2 separate regions of the Homo sapiens genome follow, and region 1 is linked to region 2. Evidence: promoter capture Hi-C in human tissues and cell types (Jung and others, 2019). All regions are on one chromosome and are shown on one strand. The core of a region is centred on a gene start or on the middle of the fragment in contact, and the rest is flanking DNA. Distances in the headings are between cores, read along the strand shown. Region 1 overlaps LINC01470 (long intergenic non-protein coding RNA 1470). Region 2 holds the start of GRIA1 (glutamate ionotropic receptor AMPA type subunit 1).

The links. Contacts are between HindIII fragments. The study calls those that stand out against the background at their distance.
Region 1: a fragment that was not itself captured here is called in contact with the fragment with the promoter of GRIA1 in region 2 in 1 of the 25 tissues and cell types used here (dorsolateral prefrontal cortex).

What each region holds. Positions count from the first base shown.
Region 1 is chr5:152,806,575-152,813,309 of GRCh38, forward strand. The region is part of intron 3 of LINC01470 (long intergenic non-protein coding RNA 1470); the gene reads right to left. Among named protein-coding and RNA genes, the nearest start is that of LINC01470, 160 kb to the right of the region's middle. RefSeq lists enhancers at 5,091-6,290, 5,500-5,759. The HindIII fragment of the contact is 3,053 bases long and covers 2,267-5,319 here.
Region 2 is chr5:153,484,567-153,492,347 of GRCh38, forward strand. GRIA1 (glutamate ionotropic receptor AMPA type subunit 1) reads left to right here and starts at 6,104. Exons shown (of 16, transcript NM_000827.4): 1 at 6,104-6,404. The coding sequence starts at 6,323. The HindIII fragment of the contact is 6,455 bases long and covers 2,631-7,781 here.

The DNA of each region.
Region 1 (6,735 bases), core at 2,543-5,042, 680 kb before region 2:
AAAAACAGGAAAATGGTGCCCCCACAACAAAGAGCAGCCACAGTAAACATCCAGGTTGGCTTATTCTTGGGAGCTCCAAGAATGCACCCAGTGTTGACACATGCCTAATATGGATTAGACTACCTGGCTTTTCTCTAGGGCCTTGCTTTTCAATCTTTTCTTCGTTATTATCCCCTCCCAAGGAACCCTTTGGACTTTTTCCCCCTAATTGTTTCCCTATGAAATGTTAAGATCATAGATATATTGTGTATCTATTTATATATAGTATGTACAGCTGTACTTTACACATAAAGAGTAGGATCCCCTTCTCACCACCAAGAATTAATTTTTGCCTCCTTGGTGTCAATATTGCCCCAATTGAGAATACATGCTCCAGGGACACTTCAAACTTGCTGTCTTGCAGTAAAAGCTCAACATTATACGACAGACTTTTTAACATTCCAGCATATTTTCATTTATGTGCACTATTATTTTAGCAGACACTCTTAGAGTGATGCTCTGAAAATAGCCATGGCATTAGATTCATGTTATTTTGTGTAGAATAAACTACTTTCTATACTTACAATGTGAACTTGCATATATTGGCTTGGAATTTAGCCACATCTGATATAAACATGGCCTCTGTCTCTCTTGCCAAAAGTTAGTGGCAAAATGAGAAGAACCTGTTGTATCTTATTGCTAGTCTTTACAGTTACTACAACTACACAAAAGCTTCTCTGGACATCCTGACTCTAGTTTGATATCATTCCTATTTATTAAGCCTCTCCTTGACCATTTCTTCTAGAAAAATCATCTATTAATTTATTCCTTGCCCCAAATCGAACACAGGTTTTCCTTTCTCTATACCTTTGTTTCTGCTCCTCTTTTTGTGTGAAATGTCATCCTTTTTTGCATCTACCCATGCAAATTCAAGGCACATTTCTTTCATAAAGTATTCTCAGCCCATGGTGACCTCCTCCTTCTCTCCTCCAGCAGCACTTCCCATGTCTAGTATTATTTGGTATGTATTCGTTACTGGTGGAAGAGATCCGAGTTACCCCAAGTTACCAGTGGCATATCTGTAGGCCTCTGCAGCAATTTTAGTCCCTACTTCCTCAGAAAAAAGAATTTGACTGAGGGGCATAAAGCAGAAAAAGAGACTGAGGCAAGTTTCAGAGCAGGAGTGGAAGTTTATTTAAAAAGGCTTCAGAACATGAAAGAAAAGGTTCACTTGGCAGAGATCCAAGAGGGCTCCTGAAGGTCAAAGAGAGAAAAAGGGGCATTTAACCTTGATCCTAGGGCTTTCTAGGCTCACCTCTTTTCCATGATTCTTCCCTTAGGATGGGCTTCCCAAATGCTCAGTACCCTCCTTACCCTTAAGAATTGAGCAGGGGCAGTGTGTTTAGGAAGGTGTACACATGCCCATCTGAGGCTTTCTTCCTTTTTCCTGTGGAGTGTACTAGGAAGGTTGTGCTTCATCATCTTGTCTGTTAAGGCACATACCCAGGAAGTTTTTCTCCCTGGCATCCATATTCAATTCACACTTTAACGTTAATAGCTATGGATAATCAGGAAATGTCCTCTCCCTGGCTTTAGAGATGTAGTGTGATAGTTATTGAACCATCACCTGATATTCCCAGTGGGTTGGGGGAGAGCCCTCTCCTGCCCCGCTCACACCTATCTAACTACCTGTAACATATTTATGGACTCCTCAAGGGCCTAGAATAGGGTCCACACACACATACACTGAACACCAAAATGAGGATGGAAGCCCTTTTCTACAATACTCATGACAGCTGTTAATAATCAGTTATTCCCACTGAACAATGAAGAAGCTCAAGAGAGACACTTTTAGTGATGTCAAGTTAATATACAAATAAAAGCTAATTGCCTCCTGGGTTTTGTTATTATCTTTATAGACCCAGAGCCCTTAACATAATCTATGTACACAGAATATGTTCAGGAATAAATATTTCTTTGATAAATGAATAGGTGAATAAGTCTATCCAATACGGATGCCTCCAAGAATGCTACAGCCTTCATTCCAGAGCCTACAGGAAACCTAAATGGAAAGGACAGAGAAAAAATGAAGACAATAAGAGGGAGGTAAATATTAGTCATATCTAGGTGATGTTTGCCTGAGCTCTTAACTTCTCTGGATGTCAACTAAAAAAAAAAATGTAAATGATATATTCTAGGACTAAAACCCAAAGTTACCCTATATCTAAACTGCTAAAGTAATTGTCTTCAATGTCATGAAAACATTTGTCAAGAGAAGAAAAGACTCAGGTAGGCCCCAGTAGCTGCTTTTACATATCTGAAAAGATCATTCAGTTTTCAGCTCAATAGAAAGAAATTTCTTACAGTAAAATCTAGTCAAGGTCAGATTAAACTTCTTTTGGAGATGAGTCACATGACACTAACAGCATTGAAGAATACATTGGACAGCTTGGCAGGAAATCATTAGAAGGCATTCAAACAGCGGAAGAGGGCAGGGGAGACTGGACCACCCTAAATTCTTCCCCAGCCACATGAGACTGTAATCCAGATGGCTCATTCCAGGGCTAACTGGTAATTTACTGTGAGTATCATATTCAGAGCATACAAGCCATTCTCTGAAAGGGCCTGATTCCTTTATCTCATGAGGACACAAGCTATACTCTTAAACCTTGCAACTTCCTATGCTCAGTGACAAACAAAGGAATCATCACAATGAAGAAAAAATGAAAAAAACAAGTAGCTGCTTAAAATTACCATTATTGTTGCTGCTGTAAAGAAAAGCATTTGTTGATTTCTGCTTTTGTCCTACTCACAAAATTACCAAGATGCTTTTCCCAGGTGTGGAGTAGCTCTTTTGATTACAGGCTGTTTGAATATTACATTTCTTCCCAGACAGCGACTTTATGCTGTAGGCAAATTGAGCTGTTTTCATATAAATACAGCCAGTCCTTCAGCAATATTTTAATTACCAACTAAATGGGTACTTGACTTTCTCCCCCACAACCCACCACACATTACAATCCTCTGAATGACCTCCCTAATTCAGGTAGACCCATGGGAAAATCATTAAACCCAAAGTTGAAGTGTTTCCTAGAATTCCTCCATTATAATACTTATTCATCATATACACCGTGCAATAATACCTTCTCTAAGTAACCCAAAGCCCTTTCTTGGTAGAGAAAGCTCCATAAAAATAACTGATGTCTGCTGAGTACGTAATGTGTGTTACTTACATAGTGCTCACAAAACTGATGAAATAAATATTATCATTCCCATTAATTAAATGAGGAGTTACTGAGGCTTTGAAATTAGGTAAATGGCCCAAGGGGACAGAGTTAATATGCAGTGCAGCTGGAATTCAACCCTATGCCCATTTTGTTTTAGAGCCTGAGTTCTTTACCACAATGTTATGCTTTAAGTCATTGATTCTCAAAACGTAGCCCCTGAATCATCATCAGCAGCATAACCTGGGAACTTCTCAGAAATGCAAATTTCCAGGCCCCACTATATTTACTGAATCAAACTCTGTCTTCCAGTGATTCTGATGTATTCTGAGAACTACTGGGCTAAGCAAATAATGTTATCTCTACTCTGTGTCAAGAGTCATGCTAGGTACAATATAAGCTACAGAAGAAGTTTGGTTTCTTCACAGAAGAGTTTATGATTTAGGAAAGGAAAAAAAAAGATTAAAATAAAAAGAATGAGTAGTATAGAGAAACACACATAGAATTTAATAAATATTTGTTCGTTAATTGAAATAGATTCGAAATTGTAGGCTGAATGATTTTGTGGATTTAAATTTTCTGCAACTTCCTTTTCTCCCTCCTGCATATCTATTCAAGCTTGGGAAATATTTTACGAAGCTTAACAAAAATATTTCATTTTCAGATACACTTATGTATGTGTCTCTTAGTCTACTATGTATTTCTAATGTTTGTGTGATGTTAGTATGCTTTTTTTTTTTTTTTTTTTTGAGACGGAGTCTCGCTCTTTCGCCCAGGCCGGAATGCAGTGGCGCTATCTCGGCTCACTGCAAGCTCCGCTTCCCGGGTTCATGCCATTCTCCTGCCTCAGCCTCCCGCGCAGCTGGGACTACAGGCGCCTGCCTCCGCACCCGGCTAATTTTTTGTATTTTTAGTAGAGATGGGGTTTCACCGTGTTAGCCAGGATGGTCTCTATCTCCTGACCTCGTGATCTGCCACCCCGTGATCTGCCCGCCTCGGCCTCCGAAAGTACTGGGATTAAAGGCATGAGCCACCGCGCCCGGCCTGTTAGTATAAGTACCTTGCATTTTAATTTTCAGAAGACTTTCCAGTAGAGAAGGACACTTCTTCAAATGGACTAATCCCAAGGAGCTGAGTTCTGAATCTGCCATGTATACCCCACACAGATTCTGCTGAACAGTGGAAGGAGGCCAGGATGGGAAGTTTGTCAAAGGGTCACACTAAGGTTCATTCTGCAACCCATCTACACTCCTGAGTGTTTCCCAAATGCTCTGGCATCACTGTCAACATTGTTAACTCATCCTCTCAGAAATAAGGGCTTCATTTTCTTTTAAAAACAGGATTAGAACCTGGCAGGCCATCAGTATATAAATTTGTTTAATTTAGTCAGTGATTCTCAACAAGGATAGCTTCATCCCAAGGGGGAACTTTTTGGTATTACAACTGTTTGATGCTACAAGCTTTTACTGAGTGAGATCAGAGATGTTAGAAATCTTGCAATTCATCAGACCTATACTAAGAAAAATTGTCCTATATCCCCCAAACTTTCTGAATACCTTGCCAGGCCCTCGGGAGGTGGAAAATACAGTTTATGATAATCTGAGCCTAGAACCTAAGTAAATTTTACACATAAACAAATGGCATTTTTGCATGGTGTTATGCGAAATTTTCTAGGAATGTAACTGTAAGGTAAATCAAGGGAAGATCATATTTTTTTTCATAACTTTATCAAGACTTATTCACTATTTCAATAAAGCATTCAGTCATCAGTATTGACGTTCTGTTTGTCTTGCTAATGATACACCAATATCAGTAGGTACTTGTAGCTTTGACAGTCATTATGAATTTAAATGTGTATGTTAAGCCTCAATTTTGAAACAGCAATTATAATAAAAAGTATTGATTATATTCAGATATATATTGTCTTATTGTCATATTTCTCTCAAATCTAAACATGTTGTTCATTATAAGTAGATGTGGCTGGGCAGGGTGGCTCATGCCTGTAATCTCAGCACTTTGGGAGGCCGAGGCAGGAGGATTGCTTGAGCCCAGGAGTTTGAGATCAGTCTGGTCAATAAAGTGAGAGCCCATCTCTCTCAAAAAAAAAAAAAAAAAAAGATAAAGAAAAAGTACATGTGTTGTAGAATACTGTATCAAGGTAACAAATAATATAATTGTATTATAAATGAATCTTTTTGTATTACTTTTTATATTTGGATTTTATAAAAGTATGATTTTGTTGATTACCAGAGATGGTGAATTCCTCTTCAAAGGGTTTAATTGAGTAATGTCCTTGTCCTTGGTTCAGAGGCCTCACCTCCTTGTACTTTCTTGTTTCTAGCCTGCTAGCAGCCCTCCCACTCTCGTTGTGCACCCTGACTTGCCCAGACATGTCCGAACATGCCTTGTGCTGTAGCAGAGGGACCACTCCTTCCGCCTCCCTCCCTTGCAGATGGAACGTTTACCTTAATTGGAAAAGTTTAAGTCAGCCAACCAGGGTCAGCCTAGATTGTGCAGTCCAACCCTAGCTAATAGGGGAAGGACACAGGGATAGGGACTGCATTACGAATAAAAACACCTTCTCTCCTTTGTTTGGTGTGCTCTCACAGCAGCCAAAAGTGCAAGTGGCACCCTTCTGAAGAAGTAAATTTGCCTTACTGAGAAATCCTTTGTTTGAGTGCTCATTTTCCTTGAAACTCTGAGCTCTTGTTTCTAACATTGATGAAAATGTTGATTTGATCAAAGTATGCATCAAAGTTGTTTATATTATAAGCTTCATATCAGGATATGAAAAACATTATGAAATATTTGTTATTAAAAAGGAGCTCTGGGTCAAGTAAGGTTGAAATATGAATAAACAAATGATGTTTTGATGTATACATTTTTCTGTATTACTCTTCCTAGACTATAAACGCCACAGGTCCAGGCATCTGTTACATTCACCATTGTAACACCAATGCCTAGGATAGACCATCTCACCTAGCAGGATCACTCACTCACTCTACAAACATTTGCTGAGCATCGCTGAGTCAGGAACAAAGGGAACATACCCATGGATAAGACAGCAACCAACAAATGGCAAGTAGTATACATATAGACTGGAGCAAGTCCTAGCAGGAAAATACAGGTGGTAGAAGAACAACCTAGGATGGGTGTAATTTGACAGCATGGTGAAAGCGGGTCTCTCTGACAAGGTGACTTTTGTAAAAAGGCTGAGCTGTGAAAGTAAGCCAGCCATGAGAGAGCCCTGAAAGAGCATTCTGGGCAAAGGGAACTGTGACACAAATGCCTAAGGCAAGGTAGGGATGAGCTTGACCTCAGGACAGAAAGCCAGATGTGTGGCTAGAAGGTAGTGATAGAGATGGTGGGAGATGAAAGTGATACAAGGTGAACTGAAAGAAGCAGTCAGGCGCCAAATCTCACTTGGCCTCATGGGTCTTGGTAACACATTGGAATTTTATTCTGAGAGCAATATGAGGCTACTGGAGTCTTTTAGGGAGAAAAGGAATATGATCAAGTTTCCATTTTAAAA
Region 2 (7,781 bases), core at 4,854-7,353:
AAAGACTTCCAACCAGATCCTGAAGTGAGAGCAAAAGCAATGCGGATTTCTACAGAAGATGCTTTCCAGGCAGAAAGATGAGCAAGTGCAGTGGTCCTGGGACAAGATGGTGATTAGTGTGTCCAATGAACAGCAGGCAGGCTAGTGTGACTGCAGCAGAGGATGCCAATGAGGAAGGGTATAGGATACCAGTGAAAGAGGCAGCCAGCTGCCAGATTGCAGACTTTAAGTATGGATGAAGTTCTGGGATATTTTGGAGCCGGAGAGTGACAATGTCTGACTTCTTTTTAAAAATTTCACTCTGGTGGCCATACAGAGAGCAAATTACGTTGCTGGGGAGGGTGTACAAAAGGAGTAGAAATAAGGAATTGATAAAGATTGAGAGATATGGGTAGAATGAATGACCTGGAGTGGAGCGATGGTGGAAAGTGGTTGGGCTCTATATTGTTAAAGTACAGCCCATAGAATTTGCTAATGGGTTGGAGGTGGAGTTCTTAGCTTAGCTTGACAATCAGGTGAATGAAGGTGTCATGTAGGGAGATTGGAGGGATGAGGGAAGGAGCAGGTTGGGGAGCACCAGCAGCAGAAGTTTGTGTATTCCTGATGGGCAGATGTTTTGAGGGTGGGGGAAGTGACATAGGCTTAATAGAAGACTGGCACACTGAGCTATAGGAGAAGCTTTCTGAAGTGGATTGGAACAACAGGGAAGGCCTCCAATGCCAGGATGACTCTGGACTCTAACCAAAAATAATGACATTTCACACCTCTGTACAGGAATGGCTGGCAGAGTCATTTCTGTGTGTTTGGAGATTCACCAGTCCCTTCACATGGAGCATGTCATTAATGCCCTCTCTAGCCCCACAAAGTATAACCTCTCATTATCCCCACTTCCCAGATGAAGACATTGAGACAAAGGGGTTAAATAGCTCATCCAGAACCACCCATCTGGGGAGGATGGCGGTGAAGGTCTGGCTCTATTGTCTCCTAGACTAGGGCCAGATGAGCTGCAGGGCCTCTCAGGAGAGCTGGTGCCAATGCTGCATGGTGGCCACCCGCCCATGTGAGTGTGGCCCAGGTGGCCTCTCTGAAGGCATTGCTGATTTAAAGGAATAGTCAGTGCCTCCAATTTCTACCAGTAACAATGGTGCTGCGTAGAAGCTTCCCCATGGAATCGTGGAATAGACTTTTTTTTTTTTTTCAGGCACTGATCCTGCCCCAGGGTGTTTTCCAGAACTTGCATGGCTCCCTAATTACCTAGTAATGCTGAGAGCTTATGAAAATGCTGTCATTTGTGTGAGGAGGGGAGGGAAGACTGAAAGAAGAAGAAGAAAAAAAAGCAGATAGAAAATGCTGTTAAACCTGGCAGAACTCCAGGGTGGGTAATTACATTCTTTGGGGTGTGTTCTCACCACACACACAGTCTGTGGATTATTTTGGAGCCTTCTGTATGAATTGTGCTAGAAAACATGAAAAAATATTATCATTATTATTTTTTAAAACATCTTTAAAAATAAGGCCTTTCTAAAGCCACAGAGGCACCCTCTCTCTGATTGCATTTTTGCCAGTTGGTTAGCTGTCAGCAATCTGTTCTTAGATCATAAATTTGATGGTCCCCCCACCCCCTTGAATTGCTTTACACTAGAAACCTAAAATGTTAAAGCCAGAAGAAACCTTGGTGAAACACCCATATTTTGCAGATGGAGAAACTAGTCCAAGAAGGGAAGGAACTTGCCAATACCACTATCACAGGTAATAGGAGGTAGAGGAGAGAATGGGCCTCCCCAGACCTGACATCTGTCCTTTCTCTCCCTTACCCCAGCCCCTGCTGTCAAATGGAGTTACAGAGTGTCAGAACCAGAAGGGTCTGTAGCCATCACCACATCTAATCTTGTCATTTAATAGATGAGGAAACAGTCTTGTAGAGGAAATGGACTTGGCCCCTAAATTGATACTGGGCATGAGAAGTGGTTGGACTCTTGTCTCCAGGATTCCACTGGCACTCCGTGGCCTGTCAGTCAGATCAAGCTCAGAGGCACTACTCTTACCCTACCCCTTTTTTCCCTAAGTCACTATATTCCATATCCCATATATGTGTGTGTATATATATATATATTCCATATTTCTACTTTTCCTTGAGAAAAGAATCTGAGGATCTAGCCACTCTAGGCCTACAATTCCTCATGGTAATAATCTGCTGCCTATTGAGTCCCTGTGGCCACCTTTAACAGGGCACAGTCTCTCTAGTTCCGTTTGTCTTCCCCATTCTCCCCAACTTGGCTCACTTCATTCATTTCCCTGCCTGGCTCAAGGAAGCATTTGCATTTGTAATCCCTGTCCAACACCATTCTCCTTGATTTGCGGTGTCAAAACAAAGCCAAAATAAGTAAATCTTAGACTGTTTTGGCTACATGGTAAGAGGACTTAAAGTATGCCAAAAATATGAGCTGGGATGGGTCATAATTAATTTGAGGAGTAGGTGCCATGCTGTCTCTAGAGCACAATTTGAGCAGCATTTGGAGGCTTTTCCAATGGGATGTCAGCCACCTGGAGTTCCTCCATTAGATACTTAACTGCTGGACTTTAATGAGCACCCATCTTCAGATATCCCACTTTAAAATATGAAAAGTCTTAAAAGATAATCAACTTAATTTTTCTTCAGTGTAATATAATGGGAGGGACGCTGCAGGGTCCTGGTGCCCAGTCCCTGGCATGCCAATCACTAGTCCCCTTAAGGAAGGTTTTTTGGCCTCAATGCTATTTATATTTGGAACCAGATAATTCTTTTTTGTGGGGTGGATGCTCTGTGAATTGTAGGATGTTTAGTGGCATCCCTGGCCTTCACCCATGAGATTCCAGGGGTACAATTCCATAATTGTGAGAACAAAAAACATCTCTGGACATTTTTGCCAAATATCCCCTGGGGGAGAAAATTGCTGTCAGTTGAGAACCACTGTCTTAAGCTAATCATGTAGCCACTTTGAAGACTTTGCCACTTTGGGAATGGCAAATAGGACTGGGGACTCTAAAGAGAGACAGCATGATGAGCTAATAAAGGATGACGTCAAATAAGTTATTTAGGGAAATGAAGCTGTTTGGTAGGTAGTTCTAACCTTTGAGGATGAGGAAATGAGAAAATCACCTTCTACCAGTGGTCAATCTTTTCTTTCTCATGCACATGCCCGCTATTGTAACTAGCATACTAAAAATGCCCCCATGGCTCATCATGGTCCACCAGGAATTCAGTGGGTTCCAAATCCTGACACTGACTTCCTCTAAGTTCCAAGTTCCCCAGTACACTCTTCCCAGTTATGCACTGCCGGCTCCAGGCTAACAGAGCACGTGGCATTCTTTCCTGCCCCCAGCCTTTGCTGGGGCTCTTTCCTTGGTTTGCATGTCCTTCCCAGTCCTCAGTTACTGCCTATAATCTCCTCATCCTTCACGGCTCAGTTCTTTTGAAGCCTTGCTGGATCCCCACAGACAGACACACTGATTGCATCCTTCTTTGCTCCCCCGCTGCTGTGTTTACATCTTTTAGAGCACTTGTCATGGTCTTTCTGGGTGACAGTTGTCCGGGTTCGTCTGTCTTCTTCTTCTGCCACATTCACCTGCCTTGAGGCAGAGACTGTGTCTGATTCCTCTTCATATTGCCCAGCACCTGGCACCCTGTGAGATACAGAATAGGTTCCCCACCAACATTTGAAATGAAGAGAATTATAAAGAAACATGGAATAAACATTGAACCTAATGTAGTTTGACCTAGATGCCTACACTTGAAATATGTAAGTTCTATATTTAATCAGTGAACAACTATGTATTTAATAGACCAAGGGGAGCTATTGACCATACTTGAGCAGGGCAATGACGTAGACCTCTGTTTTAGGAAGATCTGCTTGACTATATGATTTATAATGACCATGGAAAATTCATCTTTTTGACTCCCTTAAAAGTCCCCTCCCTACAAAGTATGCAAAACAAATCTTACCTAATGCAGGGGGACATTGAGGTTTTGCTTGTAAAGGGTCTAAAGAGCTTCCTCTAAAAGGTGATTGCAAGGTGTGAAGCCTTTAATGACAGCCTAATTATTATTATTACCAGGCACAAAGCTTAGGGAACCTAAAAGATCCCCAGGTACTATTCAAAGTAGTAAGATACAAAAACTGAAAATGGAGAAATTAAAAGATGGAATCATTAAATCAGAGACTCTTAATGTTGGCAGAGACCTTAGAAGTGATCTTTCCTGATTCTGTTCTCTCATCTTCCTATGCTGATGCTTATTCTTCCTTTAGAAGGTTCCTACCCAGTGCTTGCTGTTATTAGAGCCTAAGAGTTAAGAGCTGGGGCCTGATGGTGGCATTTACTGTGTTTAAATGCCCAATCTCTTTCATTAGCAGTGAAAACTTGGGGTGAGTTTTTAGACCTCTGTTTCTTCATCTATAAAATGGGCATGAGGCTACCTACACAGGTATTGTACAAATAAATGATGCAGGTGCATTTCTTAGCATGGTACCTGGCACATTCAAAATAGTGAATAAACATTAGCCTTAAAAATTATTTTAGCTAATTAATTAATATATGTGAAAGTGCATAGGAAATCACAAAGCATTTGACCTCCAAGTTGTTCCTATTTTGGGGCTTCATTGTACATGGTCAGATATTTTTTACAAATCCCAGTCCTTGTAGCTGTCACTCAAGTCCACATGATATACAGTCCTGGTGAGGGAAGTGAAGAGTCTGTGGATAAAATGGCCTATTCATATGGCAAAGCAAAATGGAGTCCAAAGTCTATTATTTCTTTCTTACTAAAGACAAAGTTGACTTTCCTTTTCCTGGATCATCTCCTGTTGGACAGGAGTCCTGGCCAGGGCAGTAAGTCAACTGGTAACGGCCAAAGCACTCAAGTTTGTAGGTTGTACTGTACATCTTAGTAGGTCTGTGTCTTTATGACTTAATCCCAGAAGTCTTATCTTTTTCATCTGTAAAACAGGGCTCATGGCCACTTTACAGGTTTGGAGTGAAGATAGATGGATAAAAATCTGTAAAGTTCCTTCAAAAACTGTATTCTGTGGCGGCTAGTGGCTGCTGCTTTGCATTTAACACTACTATCCTGAACACAGCTGATCTCTCTACAGGTTATTTCAGCAGAAGCCCTGGTCTAGGAGAGTCTATGAAGTTCCAGCTTACACCAGACATGACCAGCATCCAGAAAGACCTGAAAGAAGCTTGAATCCTCTCACTAGAATCCCTGCAAAATGACTCATGTAATTGCTCTGTGTAAGTATCCTTAGTCTTTATTGTACACCCACACGATTCTGATGCTATAGACTCCTGTGGAATGCAGGGAAAGAGAGAAGGGGGCCCATTTTAAATGCCTAGGATTGAAAAGAGACCACCGTTTCACTTGTAAAGGTAGACAGGGACTGTCAAATACCTGGTCAAAATACCTGCCAGTCACTCCAGATCCTCCCTTGTTTGTCTATCTGTCATTCCTTCCATTAGGAGAGAGAAAGCTTTTTTTTTTTTTTCCTTTAAATTTCCTAGGAGGGATTTCTAGGGTCTTTCCCTCAGGAATTAGTTGTAGGAATAATTGGGCCAGTGGAGTGCAGGAGATATATCCAGCGCAGCCCATGCACTCCTAGAAAAAGTGACCTAGATCAAGCAGCTGGTGGATTGAGGACTATTGTGGGGACCCCCTGCCACCTACTGACTTACAGCTGAACCCACATTCCCAGCAGCTTCAGCCTGGGGGCTGGGGGAGCGGGCAGACCGAGCTCAGAAAGGCAGGGGAGGGTAAAGAGGACTGTGGGGTTGCCCCTTTCAGGACCAAGTGCCACGTGTCACACACCCCCACCTCCACCTTTCTGCACACACAGAAAGGAGGATAAGGTGAGGATGGGAGGAAGGGGGAACAGGTAGGGAGGTCGGCTGTGGAACTCCAAGCTAGCTCGGTGGGTATTAGCATAGAGCTTGCTGCCTGTGTGAGTGTGAGGGGGAGAGCGAGAGAGAGCAAGGGAGGGAGAGAGAGGCAGGCTGCGAGGGGAGAGGAGAGGGAGTGGGGGAGCCAGCGCTCCAGCTAGCATGAGGACGGGCTTCTTTTCCCGTGCTCAGTTAATCTGGCTGTCAGTTGGTGTTAACGCTGCAGTTTAAGTGTTCGGATTCCAAGGGAAACAGACAAACCTCACGAAAGGAAGGAAGCAAGCAAGCAAGGAAGGAACTGCAGGAGGAAAAGAACAGGCAGAACAGCGAGAAGAATAAAGGGAAAGGGGGGGAAACACCAAATCTATGATTGGACCTGGGCTTCTTTTTCGCCAATGCAAAAAGGAATATGCAGCACATTTTTGCCTTCTTCTGCACCGGTTTCCTAGGCGCGGTAGTAGGTGCCAATTTCCCCAACAATATCCAGATCGGTGAGTGAGGGGGCAGCCTGGGGAGGGACTTTCTGGGTCTGGCCAGGGATTTTTTTGGGGATAGGGGTTGTGTACCCCCTCCCCGGTACTGACTGTTTTGCTTGGCTCCCTAAAGCTGTGCTGCGGTAACAGAAGGGAGACTTGGGCTTACAGCCAGAGGAGGGGGCTTCTCCTGATCGGATGAGGGGCAGAGGGGAAGTGTTCACACACGCACACATACCCTACTCGCACTCCAGGCAAGAGCATGTGAAATGGAGGAACCATCGCTTTGGAGGAAAAAAAAAATCAGGCTGGAAAGGGTGGTGGGTGTTTAAGGAGTTAACTCTATTGCTTGGTAGATGGTGCTTGATTCCATTTTTAATGTAAGTATGTATGGTGTGTGTGTTTTCACGTGTGTGATTATATATTACATATGCACATATATATGTAATTGAAGGAGGCAGTGCTTTCTCTGCTGGGGGACAGAAAAGAGACCCTCGAGAAGAAGGAGTGAGGGGTGCTGGGTATATTGCAGCCACTGAAATAATGCCAGAAGGCCCCCACTCCAAGGCGGGTAGGCTCCCTCTCCTGTTCTGGACTCCTCCAGCTGCCTTCTCTTTGCTGTCTGCCATGCTGCGCTGGTGGTCTCCACTCCCCCGATCCTGGAACTTCCTCGCCTGCCTTTTCTCCGTTCCTTCCTTGCCCCCTCCTCTTAGATTTCCTATCCACAGAGGTCTACCTTTTACACACACAAACACACACACGTACACATGCTCCTTTCTCCTCCTGTTGGCTCTCCATTATCCTTGTTACTGGGCTCCATCCTCTCAACTTGGAGGCAGGTTTCAACATGCTGCATGCTTTTTTTGTTCCCCATTTCCCCTTCTTAGTTGTTACACTTCTCAAAGGCCCCGCCACCCTCCCTGTATTTCTGAGGGGACTGACAGATATTGCTACTCCTGATAATCATGAGGGAAAGCAAAACAAACAGAAGCAATAACACCAATCACAAAGCATGTCCACAAGGGCTTGGGGCTTCCGTGTGACCAGCATGTCAGTGTCGTTTGTGTCCCGGAATGAAGCAAGCTGCTGTGTTTGGAAGCATCTTCGTTGGTTTGGTTTCTAGTCTCTCTCCCCTGGTAGGGAGATAGCTCCACTAGGGAAAGTTCGCATTGCTGGGAGTTTGTGCTCTTTTGTGAGTGTGTGTTTGAGGGGGGATGTGGTGCAATTGATATTTTGTCGGGCATACATGTGCTGCAGTACCCATCTCTTTCAGCCTCTCCAGCTAGCTGGCGGCTTGGAGTGGCCATGGAGTAACTTGCTTTGTTTCCTGACACCTGTTAAGCTACATCCTGAAGTGTGTACGTATCTGTGTGTTAGTGCCTAACACGCAAAACT